Linked DNA regions of Homo sapiens: region 1 is linked to region 2. The links are contacts of gene promoters, found by promoter capture Hi-C in blood cells and fetal thymus (Javierre and others, 2016). All regions are on one chromosome and are shown on one strand. The core of a region is centred on a gene start or on the middle of the fragment in contact, and the rest is flanking DNA. Distances in the headings are between cores, read along the strand shown. Region 1 holds the start of XPNPEP3 (X-prolyl aminopeptidase 3). Region 2 holds the start of DESI1 (desumoylating isopeptidase 1).

What was found. The method cuts DNA at HindIII sites, captures the fragments that hold promoters and counts their contacts. A CHiCAGO score of 5 or more calls a contact.
Region 1: a contact is called between a fragment that was not itself captured here and the fragment with the promoter of DESI1 in region 2, in 1 of 17 cell types (non-activated CD4 T cells). The highest score is 5.9, in non-activated CD4 T cells.

Annotation. Positions count from the first base shown.
Region 1 is chr22:40,853,930-40,859,584 of GRCh38, reverse strand. XPNPEP3 (X-prolyl aminopeptidase 3) reads right to left here and starts at 2,437. Exons shown (of 10, transcript NM_022098.4): 1 at 2,340-2,437. The coding sequence starts at 2,403. It overlaps ST13 (ST13 Hsp70 interacting protein), which reads left to right and starts at 2,946. Exons shown (of 12, transcript NM_003932.5): 1 at 2,946-3,154. The coding sequence starts at 3,045. DNAJB7 (DnaJ heat shock protein family (Hsp40) member B7) reads left to right here. Exons shown (of 1, transcript NM_145174.2): 1 at 1-36. RefSeq lists enhancers at 2,132-2,591, 2,602-2,821, 2,449-3,218. The HindIII fragment of the contact is 725 bases long and covers 1,066-1,790 here.
Region 2 is chr22:41,619,652-41,625,508 of GRCh38, reverse strand. DESI1 (desumoylating isopeptidase 1) reads left to right here and starts at 4,466. Exons shown (of 6, transcript NM_015704.3): 1 at 4,466-4,757. The coding sequence starts at 4,670. It overlaps XRCC6 (X-ray repair cross complementing 6), which reads right to left and starts at 4,214. Exons shown (of 13, transcript NM_001469.5): 1 at 4,164-4,214; 2 at 3,423-3,519. The coding sequence starts at 3,504. RefSeq lists a silencer at 4,446-4,715 and an enhancer at 4,447-5,048. The HindIII fragment of the contact is 2,045 bases long and covers 3,610-5,654 here.

The DNA of each region.
Region 1 (5,655 bases), core at 179-2,678, 760 kb after region 2:
AGAAAATAAAATAATAAAAGCCCAGGGTATTTTAAATGCTTCTAATATAAGATGTGATATTTAGTAGAGTTTATCTGTTATCATGCATGTGGTAGTAAAGTTGAAAAAAAAATTGCAATTTTCCAAAAACTAAAGCAAAAATCAGTGTCTCAGAAAATTTAAGAATGTAATGACATGCCCTGTAGTCCATTTCTTCACTCTTAACAGAAAACCAAAAATTTAGATTTAATCATCTTACTCAATAGCTTAAAATTCCTCAAAGTTTTCCCACCATCTAAAGGAAAAAGCTAATTGTTTGCTTAACATAATATACAAGGCCCTCCACGAGCCAGCCACCAGCTTTTTTCCCAACTTGATTTCCTATCAGCTCCTTGTACTCATCTTATGCTCTAGCCCAACTTCTCCCAAAATCTGTTCCAGGGATACCAGTTCAAGATTCATCACAGAAAAGGGGTCCATGGTCAAATACATTTTTACACATTTTGCAAATTACTGCGGAACACATCTCTCAGAAACCTAGACTATTAAGGGCTGGGTGCAGTGGCTCACACTTATAATCGCAACACTTTGAGAAGCTGAGGTGAGAGTTCAAGTTTACTTTGGGCAACATGGCAAGACCCCATCTCCAAAAAAAGAATTAAACTATTATGTACATTATGAAAGGCAGCATTCCCCAAAAGTATTTGATCACAGAATCATTTTCGTGTAATGCCTACTATTTTGTTTGAGAACATCTTTCAAAAAATCTTTTCCTAAGCCGGGCGCGGTGGCTCACGCCTGTAATCCCAGCACTTTGGGAGGCCGAGGCGGGTGGATCACGAGGTCAGGGGTTCAAAACCAGCCTGGCCAAGATGGTGAAACCCCATCTCTACTAAAAACACATAAATTAGCCAGGCGTGGTGGCGGGCGCCTGTAATCCCAGCTACTCGGGAGGCTGAGACAGGAGAATCGCTTGAACTCGGGAGGTGGAGGTTGCAGTAAGGCAAGAGATCGCGCCACTGCACTCCAGCCTGGGCGACAAGAGCAAGACTCTGTCTCAAAAAAAAAAAAAAAAAAAAAAAAGCTTCTCCAGCCATACTAAACGATTGCAACGCTTAGTGCTGGCCACTCCGTTTTAGAGTTCTGTGCCTTTGCAAGTGTTCCTTCTGGTAGTATGGCTCCTTTAGTCAGGCTGGGGAGAGCCTTTCAAATAAAAGCAAATTCCAGGCCTGGGGCGGTGGCTCAGAGAGGAGGGTGGATCGCTTGAGGCCAGGAGTTCGAGATCAGCTTGGCCAACGTGGCAAAACCTGGTTTCTACTACAATTACAAAAATTAGCCAGGCGTGGTGGCACACGCCTATAATCCCAGCTACCTCGGGAGGCTGAGGCACGAGAATTGCTTGAACTCAGGAGGCAGAGGTTGCAAATGAGCAGAGATTGCCACTGCACTCCAGTCTGAGCAACAGAATGAGAGCCTGTCTCAAAAAAAGACTGAAAAATTGCACATCTTTCTTTTCACCTAATCCCACGGAGAGTTGTCTTTCTGCAGCTTTACTATGAGAACTGAAGAACAAGTTCTGTGCACTGGACAATAACTTTTTATTTTTTATAGTAAGAAGTCGATGTAATTAACATTCCATTTTAAATGAATTCAAGTATATCAACATAAACATATGCCAAGACATAGCTTTGATGTCAAATACCATACGTTCTGGTTCACACATTGTTCATATATTGACCCAAAAAACTGAAATACGATCCAATGGCAGATCCGCCTGCAAGGAAGGTGATTCAGTTTTCACTGATTAAGCTTTATGTTCATCAGATTAATTGCTCGCAATAGAGGACACCCTACAAAAAATTATTCTCCTTATCCTTCGTCTTGTCTTTGCAAACAGGACTTTCAGACACAGAACGCCCCAGAAGTATTTCGAAACAGTTACCTCTCCTAAGAGGAGCTGCTGAAAGAATTTGTTACTAAACATGCTTCGTGTATATTCTGGAGCAAGCTCTCACGCCTAACAGAAACAAGAGCTACTTGATGTGAGACACTTTGTCACTTAAGTGTGATAATTGCCACAACTTCGGAGTCCGAGTAACTTGGAAGACAGCCCCTCTGGGGGATGGCACACTTTTCTCTCTGCAGTCATTTCGGCTTCACAAAATACCTCAACGGTAGAGAACACACTGGGCCCACCCCTTTCCAGGAGCAGCCGGTATAGAAGAAATCCGCGGAGCACAGAGGGTTGGGGAGCGGAGGCCCCACCAGGAGAAGGGTCAGCCGAACCAGGGATCGCCTGAGACCAACTTGGGTCCCTCCAGGGGACACCATGGGAGGAGACCGTGGGAGAAGAGTCTAACCTGAGAGGCCGCGGACGTTTGCTACAGCGGGAACCAGCTTGGGGGCTGAGAGCAGCCAAGGCATTACGGCCTAACTCACGCGTCGGGAAGAGAAAGAGGGTAACGACGGGGAACGCAACCGCCTGCAGGGCCGCGTCGCCAGGAAACCGGGCCAGCCGCACCTCCCCTTCCGGCGGAGGCGGCTCGCGGGCCTTCCTTGCGCGGCGGCGCAGGTTGTGACGTCATGCCCCGAGCTGGGACCGACCCTCCGGCTCCACGCCCTTTTTTTTTTTTTTTTTTAGGTCCCGGGCGTTGAGCTCTACTCAGTGCACGCAGCCACACAATATGCTCTTGGACGTCGCCCCCTGGAGGGGATGTTATCTCCCGCCTCCTTGAAGTCGCCCATTTCTGGGGTTGCCCCATCCAGGGAGCTGGTTCCTAGTTAAGAATATGAGAATGTATGCGCAGGGAGGCAGGCAACAGCACGAACAGCCACGCTTCTAGAAGATTCTAGGGAGCGCGCAGGAGCAGCGCAGAGGGAGTAGGAATGAGCAGGCGGAGGACCCGAGGTCACGAGACCGTTGGGTGGGAGGAGCCAGCGGCCGGGGAGGTTCTAGTCTGTTCTGTCTTGCGGCAGCCGCCCCCTTCTGCGCGGTCACGCCGAGCCAGCGCCTGGGCCTGGAACCGGGCCGTAGCCCCCCCAGTTTCGCCCACCACCTCCCTACCATGGACCCCCGCAAAGTGAACGAGCTTCGGGCCTTTGTGAAAATGTGTAAGCAGGATCCGAGCGTTCTGCACACCGAGGAAATGCGCTTCCTGAGGGAGTGGGTGGAGAGGTGAGACCCAGGCCTGAGGACCGTTGGGGGCGGGGGAAGCACGGCCCCAGGGGGGAGCCAGGCTGGACCTGGCTCGGTCCGGCGGGCGAGGCGGGGTCGCTGCCCCTTCTTTGCCCGGGAAAGGGAGGCAACTTCGAGGGGTCATGGAAGATCGCGAGCCTTGGGTAGTACAGGAGCCGCGGGGAGCAGGAGGCAGAGCTGGGTTCCTCGCACCCTGAGGTTGCCCAGGGGTGTATCTTGGGCGAAATACAAAAACAGGACTGCGGATGCGTGGACACTGGAGACGCGAGGAGTGAAAACTGCAAGACTTAGATTTTGCGTGGGGTTGTTTTTCTTTCAGTCTTGTGTGCCCTGCTCAGGTCTCATTGGTACATAGCAGTTCCTTTACGCACTATTCCTTTACGTCGTGTTATAATAATATAACACTAGTAAGTTAAAAGTTACAAAACTAGTAAGAATAAAAATGATAACTGTAAAAATGATTGTTTTTACCTTACAGCGTTTGTAGCTGCGTAGGATTAATTATCTTGAGAATCACTTATTATACCTCCGTTACTTGGCAGTGTTATCACTCCAAACACGTCTGAGAAAAATAATTTCTTAAGGCCTGGCATGTTTCCAGGATATAATCTTGTTGTCTTTAACTGTAGAGTACTTCGCTACGTGCAAGGAGTTAATTGACAAGGCATTGTGCCTGGTGCTAGGAAACAGTATAAGTACTGTCTATTTAGACGAATAAATAGAAAAGTTCGTTTTGATATTTACTATATAATAGTAATTAGCATTTTATGTGTTGAAGGAGCACCGAAGAGAAAAAGTGACAGGGAAGTCTTCCCTAAGATGACTTTTTAAAAAATTATTACTAATGGGGAACTGAAAAGATGACATACAAATTGCACTAAACAGGGATAAATAGCAACTATGCAGACCATTGCGACTCCTAAGAGGTGCTGCTGTGAACGTTATGTGTTTAGTGACTTTTGTCTTTTAGAGACAGGGTTTGGCTGTATTGTCCAGGCCGCATACAGTGGCGGGATCACTGCAGCCTCCAATTCCTGGGCACAAGCGATCCTCCTGCATCAGTCTCCCAGGTGGCTAGCAGTGCGGGATCGAGCCACCATACTTGGCTAATTTAATTTTTTTGTAGAGATGGGGGTCCCATTAAGTTGCCCAGGCTTGTCTTGAACTCCTGGCCTCAAGGGACTCCCCCGCCTCCCAAAGTGGTGGTATTACAGGCGTGAGCCACTTCACCCAGCGTGATATTTTTGTGTGGGAAGATGAGCTCATGATTACCAAATAGCTCAAAGAATATTTCTTAACAACAATCTGGTTCTAAGGAAAAAACTCGTTACAATCTGTCAGCGTTGTATGTTGTATTTTTTTCCTCTAAGAAGTTTTTCAATTTTTAGCTCCCCACCAATTGTCTAACTACTGGAAGACTTACTTATATGTGAAATTCTGAGACCATTTAATATTACTATGTTAATAGTAACTTTATGAATATTGGTAAGAAGTCTATTTTGCAAACTCCTCAACCGGGAAATGTCAGGATTAGGAATTGAGGGCTAGGTTTTAGTCGTTTTCTCTATTGAACAGCTTGATGATCCAAAAGCCTTAAGATATTTGTATGCTTTTATCCTAATTATAGGAAAGAACCTGCAGTTAATAAATTCTTTCTAAAATTCCAGGTAACGTAGACAAGTATCACAGGAAGAAAATAGCCGGCTCCAAGAGCTGGCTCCACTTTACATTAAGTGGATACAATGTTTTTGTTTCATTCTTACTAGTGAGGAAGAGGAGACACAGAAGAACAAATTAAAAGCATGTGTAAGAACAGTGTCCTCCTGACTTGTGCTGGAGTGATTGTGCCTATGTAGAGAATTCCACTTTAAGGTTTGCAAAATATTTGTCAGGCACTACTATCTCCCAAACAAAAACAAGAAATAGTCATATACCTTATTTTAACATAGGTAATTCCAGTTTTTCTTTCTGATTCCACTTACATTCTTTAGCCATCCTGAGTTGGCTGAAGTATGGGGTGAAGCATCATGGCATATGTAGGGACTTTATTCTGAACTTAAATTGAGATATTTAATATAGAAGCTTTTTCTCTTTATTTCTGTATTTAAACTAAGATTTTTATAAACTCTGAGGCCTTTGCGTTTGTGTCAGTTTCTCTCTCTGCCTTCATCAGTCTGCAGTTCGAGATTGTGGCAGATGGGGCTGAATGTGGAGACTTCTAGGTCCAGACGTCTTCCTAGGCCTGATGCTACTGTTAGGGTTACTCAAGTTGAAAACATGTGTTTCTCACAGGCTTAGCTGTTGAAGAACAGTACATCTGCCTATTTGCTATAATTGCTAGCATTGTTTATAGCTTAGTTTTATTTGATATAAGGATTTATTAGTTTAACCTTTTAAATTGCACAAAGAGAAATACTAAAAGTCTTTCTGAACTAGTTGTCAGTGAGGATCCAGGAGACTGTTCTTTTCAAGAACTGTGT
Region 2 (5,857 bases), core at 3,217-5,716:
ACGGGCATGTGCCACTATGCCCAGCAAATTTTCTGTATTTAGTAGACATGGGGTTTCATCATGTTGGTCAGGCTGGTCTCAAACTCCCGACCTCAGGTGATAGCCTGCCTCAGCCTCCTACTCCCAAAGTGCTGAGATTACAGCCGTGAGCCACTGTGCATGGCCTGCTGCTTCTTAATAAGTTTAATTAGCTGTCTCCTGGAGAACAAAATGGCAATGTGTGTCAAGAACCTTAAACATGCGATGACGCGATCTTGGCTCACCGCAACCTCCACCTCCCGTGTTCAAGCGATTCTCCCGCCTCAGCCTCCTGAGTAGCAGGATTACAGGCATGCGCTACCACGCCTGGCTTATTTTGTATTTTTAGTAGAGACAGGATCTCACCATGTTGGCCAGGCTGGTCTTGAACTCCTGACCTCAGGTGATCTGCCCACCTTGGCCTCCAAAAATGCTGGGATTACAGGCATGAGCCACCGTGCCTGACCTATTTTATTTTATTTTATTTTATTTTTGAGACGGAGTCTCGCTCTGTCGCCCAGGCTGGAGAGCAGTGGCGCAATCTCGGCTCACTACAAGCTCCGCCTCCCGGGTTCACGCCATTCTCCTGCCTCAGCCTCCCGAGTAGCTGGGACTACAAGCGCCTGCCACCACGCCTGGCTATTTTTTTGTATTTTTAGTAGACACAGGGTTTCACCGTGTTTGCCAGGATGGTCTCGATGTCCTGACCTCGTGAGCCACCCGCCTCGGCCTCTCAAAGTGCTGGGATTACAGGTGTGAGCCACCGCGCCCGGCCTTATTTTTTATTTTATTATTATTTTTTTGAGACAGAGTCTCACTCTGTCGCCCAGGCTGGAGTGCAGTGATGCAATCTCAGCTCACTGCAAGCTCTGCCTCCCGGGTTCACGCCATTCTCCTGCCTCAGCCTCCAGAGTAGCTGGGACTACAGGCGCCTGCCACCACGCCTGGCTAATTTTTTGTATTTTTTTAGTAGAGACGGGGTTTCACCATGTTAGTCAGGATGGTCTCTATCTCCCGACCTTGTGATCCACCTGCCTCGGCCTCCCAAAGTACTGGGATTATAGAGGTGAGCCACCGCGCCCGGCCCCTATTTTATTTTTTTTGAGATAGAGTTTCACTCTGTTGCCCAGACTGGAGTGCAGTGTTGCAATCTCAGCTCACTGTAGCCTCTGCCTCCCCGGTTCAAGCAATTCTCGTGCCTCAGCCTCCCAAGCAGCTGAGACTACAAGTGCATGCCACCACAGACTCAGCTAACTTTTGTATTTTTTAGTAGAGATGGGGTTTTGCCATGTTGGCCAGGGTGGTCTCGAACTCCTGACCTCAAGTGATCTGCCCGCCTCAGCCTCCCAAAGTGTTGGGATTACAGGCGTGAGCCACCACACCCAGACAAATTACAGTATATTTATTGAGATTACAAGTGTGAGCCACCACACCCGGCCAAATTATGGTATATTTAAAATGAGCTATAGGCCACGCACAGTGGCTCACACCTGTAATTCCAGCACTTTGGGAGGCCGAGGTGGGTGAATCACCTAAGGCCAGGAGTTCAAGACCAGCCTGGCCAACATGGTGAAACACTGCCTCTACTAAAAATACAAAAATTAGCCGAGTGTGGTGGCGCACACGCCTGTCATCCCAGCTGCTTGGGAGGCTGAGATGGGAGAATAGCCTGAACTGGGGTGGCGGAGGTTGCAGTGAACCGAGATTGAGTCAGTGCACTCCAGCCTGGGCGACAGAGCAAGACTCTGTCTCAATAAATAAATAAATGTATATGCACTATCGTTACAATACAAGAAATCAGATAGGCCAGGCGCAGTGGCTCACACTTGTAATCCCAGCACTTTGGGATGCTGAGTAGGGCGGATCACAAGGTCAGGAGATCAAGACCATCCTGGCTAACACAGTGAAACCCCGTCTCTACTAAAAATACAAAAAACTGGCCGGGCGTGGTGGTGGGCGCCTATGGTCCCAGCTACTCGGGAGGCTGAGGCAGGAGAATGGCATGAACCCGGGAGGCGGAGCTTGCAGTGAGCCAAGATCGCGCCACTGCACTCCAGCCTGGGCGACAGAGCAAGACTGTCTCCAAAAAAAAAGAAAAAGAAATCAGATACAGTCTGGGCATGGAGGCTCATGACTATAAACCTAGAACTTTGGGAGGCCAAGGCTTGGGGGTATCGCTTGAGGCCAAGAGTTTGAGACCAGCCTGATCAACATAGCAAGATCCTGTCTCTACAAAAAATTAAGAAATTATTGGGAGTTGGCGGCACTTGTAGTCCCAGCTACTGAGGTAGCTGAAGCAGGAGGATCACTTGAGCCCGGGAGTTTGAGGTTACAGTGAGCTACGATGATCTCACCACTGCACTCCAGCCTGTCTCTATTAAAAAATTAAAAAATATATATATTTCATTAGGAAATAAATATTGAAAGATACTTGAAAGAAAAATACAAAAATGTCAAAATGCTGGTAGTGGTTGTGTTAGAGTGGTAGATTATAGCAAATTTTTTTCTTTTTTGTATTTCCTATGTTTCTCACTTTTTTTTTTTTCCTGAGAGAGTCTCATTCTGTCACCCAGGCTGGAATGCAGTGGCGCCATCTCGGCTCACTGCAAGCTCCACCTCCCAGGTTCGCACCATTCTCCTGCCTCAGCCTCCCGAGCAGCTGGGACTACAGGCGACCGCCACCACGCCCGGCTAATTTTTTGTATTTTTTTTTTAGTACAGACGGGGTTTCACCGTGTTAACCAGGATGGTCTTGATCTCCTGACATCGTGATCCGCCCGCCTCGGCCTCCCAAAGTGCTGGGATTACAGGCTTGAGACACCGCGCCTGGCCGTTTCTCATTTTTAATAAAAATATTCAAAATTTTTCTGCTCAGGAGTTAAATTAACCAGTATGAAGATTACATGTACCCCTATTTCTCTTCCTTTGTTTTATGTGTTACTGTGTTGCCTGCACATACACTCCCAAACGTGGAGGCTATAGTGAGGGAATCAATCACTTTCCTGTAACTGTGTTGCTTGCGTTTATTCTTTGGTTGGTGTAGTTATTGCAGGGTGGGGGCATTTTTACACTGAGGTCCTGGAATGGTAACACTACTTTCCTGGATGAGAAGGGTCTCACCTGAACCACTTAAGATGACAAAAAATACCTATGGTCATGGCCATTTATCAGGGACCAAAAGATGTCAAACTACCAGTGTCCAAAAAAAACTTAGGGCACACTAGAGTAAGATCTGCATATAAGAGCCTAGGGTAGCTCTGCGAAGTTCAAAGGAAGAAAAGAATTTCAGAATTATCTGGGAGGAGAAGGGCAGGCCATCAAACAGCAAAGTCCATCCAGCAGAGATAGGCAGGGAAGGTCTTTCTTCCACACACCGAATGGCACTACATGCTGAAGTCACTTACCACTTGCTTCAAGGTTCTCTTCTTGTTCTTCCTCTGCTTCTTCATCGCCCTCGGTTTTGTAATATGACTCCCACCCTGACATGTTGGCTACTGCTCACTAGGCGAAAGACGTTAACGTCAGTAACAGGCAAATTTAAATCGAAAAAATACCGACCTCTAGGTTCTTGTGAGATCTGTTCTAAAAGCTTGGTTAGTAGTGAGGAATGTGGACGGTAAATCCTGCTGCCTCGAAAGCTCGGCAGTCGGACTGCATGTAAATGCGCATGGGGGCCATCCCAGTAGCTGCCTCATCTCAGCTATCCCTCACGTTTCAGGGCCGGCGGCGGCCCGCGGAAGCCAGATCCCGGAGGTCCCGCCCCCGACGCCATTTAGACGGTGAGGGATTCCCGCTCCAGGATTCTATGCTGACTAACGGACCCCCTCGTCCTCAATACCGCCCAAAAACCTCCCCAAATTCCTCAATCACGCCCAATGAGATCTCAAACGCAGACAGGCCTCAAGCGCAGGCGGGCCGCAAGCGCAGGCGGGCCTCAAACGCAGGCGGGCCTCAAACGCGAGGTGCCGCCTCCTTCCCGAGGAAGGAGCGTGGTCTCGAGTCTGTCGCTGCTCCTCGGATTCGCACACTTAAGGCTAACGCTAACCCTCTAGCAAGGCTATGGGGGCGCGCGAGACCGACCGAGCGAAGCGGGACGAGGCCAGGCCTAGCTGGCGAACAACACAAATGGATAACGGCCCGCTTACCTTTGGCGCAGGGAAGCGACCAACTTGGACAGAAGACGACAATCCACGCATGCGCGGGCCCTGTACTCGGTCCCAATCAACGCCCTCTACGTCATCACGCATGTGCGCACTATATCGCGTCAGGCTGGCACGCACACTCCCCAACCAGCTTCTACCTATGTCCCTGACGAAAGCCAACCCATCAGCGAGAGCCCCGCCCCCTTCGGCAAAGCCCCGCCCCTTCCTACGTCAGGACTGTAAGCACATGCGCAAAAGTGCATCCCTGCCCCCGCCCCCTCTTCCGTGTGGGCCCTCCCTGTCCCCTCTCTGTCACCTCACAGTAGTCGTTGCCGGTAGCGGGTGTGGGGGCGCGAGCAGCGCAGGGCGGCCTCTCCCCCACCCCTCAGCCCGGGCCCGGGCTCGGTCCCCCCCTCTCCCTCCGCTTCGCACTCCCGTCGGGTACGGGAAGGTCCAAGCCGCTGCCGGGTGCCCGAGGGCCGTCGTGGCCGCCGTCGCCACGGGTCCCAATGGAGCCGCCGAATCTCTATCCGGTGAAGCTCTACGTGTACGACCTGTCCAAAGGCCTGGCCCGGCGGCTCAGCCCCATCATGCTGGGTGAGGGGGAAGGGGCCAGGTGGGCAGGAGGGCGGGAGCCAGGCCAGAGGGTGGCGGCTGGCCGAGGTGGGGAGACTTGGGCCACGACTCACGGGGAGACACATGGCCAGGAGGATGGAAGAAAAGCCGAGTGGAGAAGAGAGTGGTCTGAAGTTTGGGCCATCTGAGCCCCGCTTTAGCCTCGCAGATACCATCCTCACGTTTGAATTCAAGGGGAAGGGATGGAGGAGTCATGCCTCCACCTTGCAGGGGGCTTGGGCAGAAACCGAGCCCTCGAGAGCCCCTTCGACGAGGGTGTGGGGTAAACCAGCGCTGGATCCCGGCGGGTTCTCTGCCTCGCTCGGGTAGCCCAGTGCACTCCTGCCTCCTTGGCGCGGTGTAGGAAAGGTGAGGATGCCTGCCGCGCGGTGCCCCTCGTGGTGACAGAGACACTGCGGAGGTCGGGTGGCTCTCGGAGAACCTTGTCTCAGTGCCAAAAGGAAGCTCCCTTTGCAGTCCCAGGGATAGGTGGGATGGGGGAGATAGAGCTGCCTAGGGACCCAGCCATCGCCCCCAGGTAGGTCAAGTCAGGATAAGAGGAGCCCCGAACTCCAGAATTCACCAAGCAGTCTTCTCCCCACAGTTTCTAAGTTAATTGCTTTTGCTCAAATGGCAAGAAAGCAGTTTTGGGGGAAGTTTGGATGAGGCTGTGTGAATAAGGATTAGTAAAGAAAGTATTTCGGTTGTGCTCCATTAAACTACTTAACTGGCAGGAGAAAAACCAGCCCTCATTCAGTGACGATCACACCTTATTTCAACTTAAATACAGGAATGTCTTGTGTAACACAGGAATTGTCAGGTTTGTAATTTCGGGTAACAATGAGCAGGAAAGAATTCCAATTATTGAAAATTGAAGCTTTGACAGCATCCATTTGAATGGCTAGTTTTTCCTGGCTTCTGTGGAGACACTGGCGAATGATTTAGTTCATCTCTGTGAGACGAGGGGGCAGAGATCAAGTAAGGGAGGCTACTTTTGAGGGCATCCTTCAATGTCCTTGAGTTTCTAATATGTCGTAGTGAATTGAACTTAATCTCACAACCGTGGGTCCATGAGTTGTTTC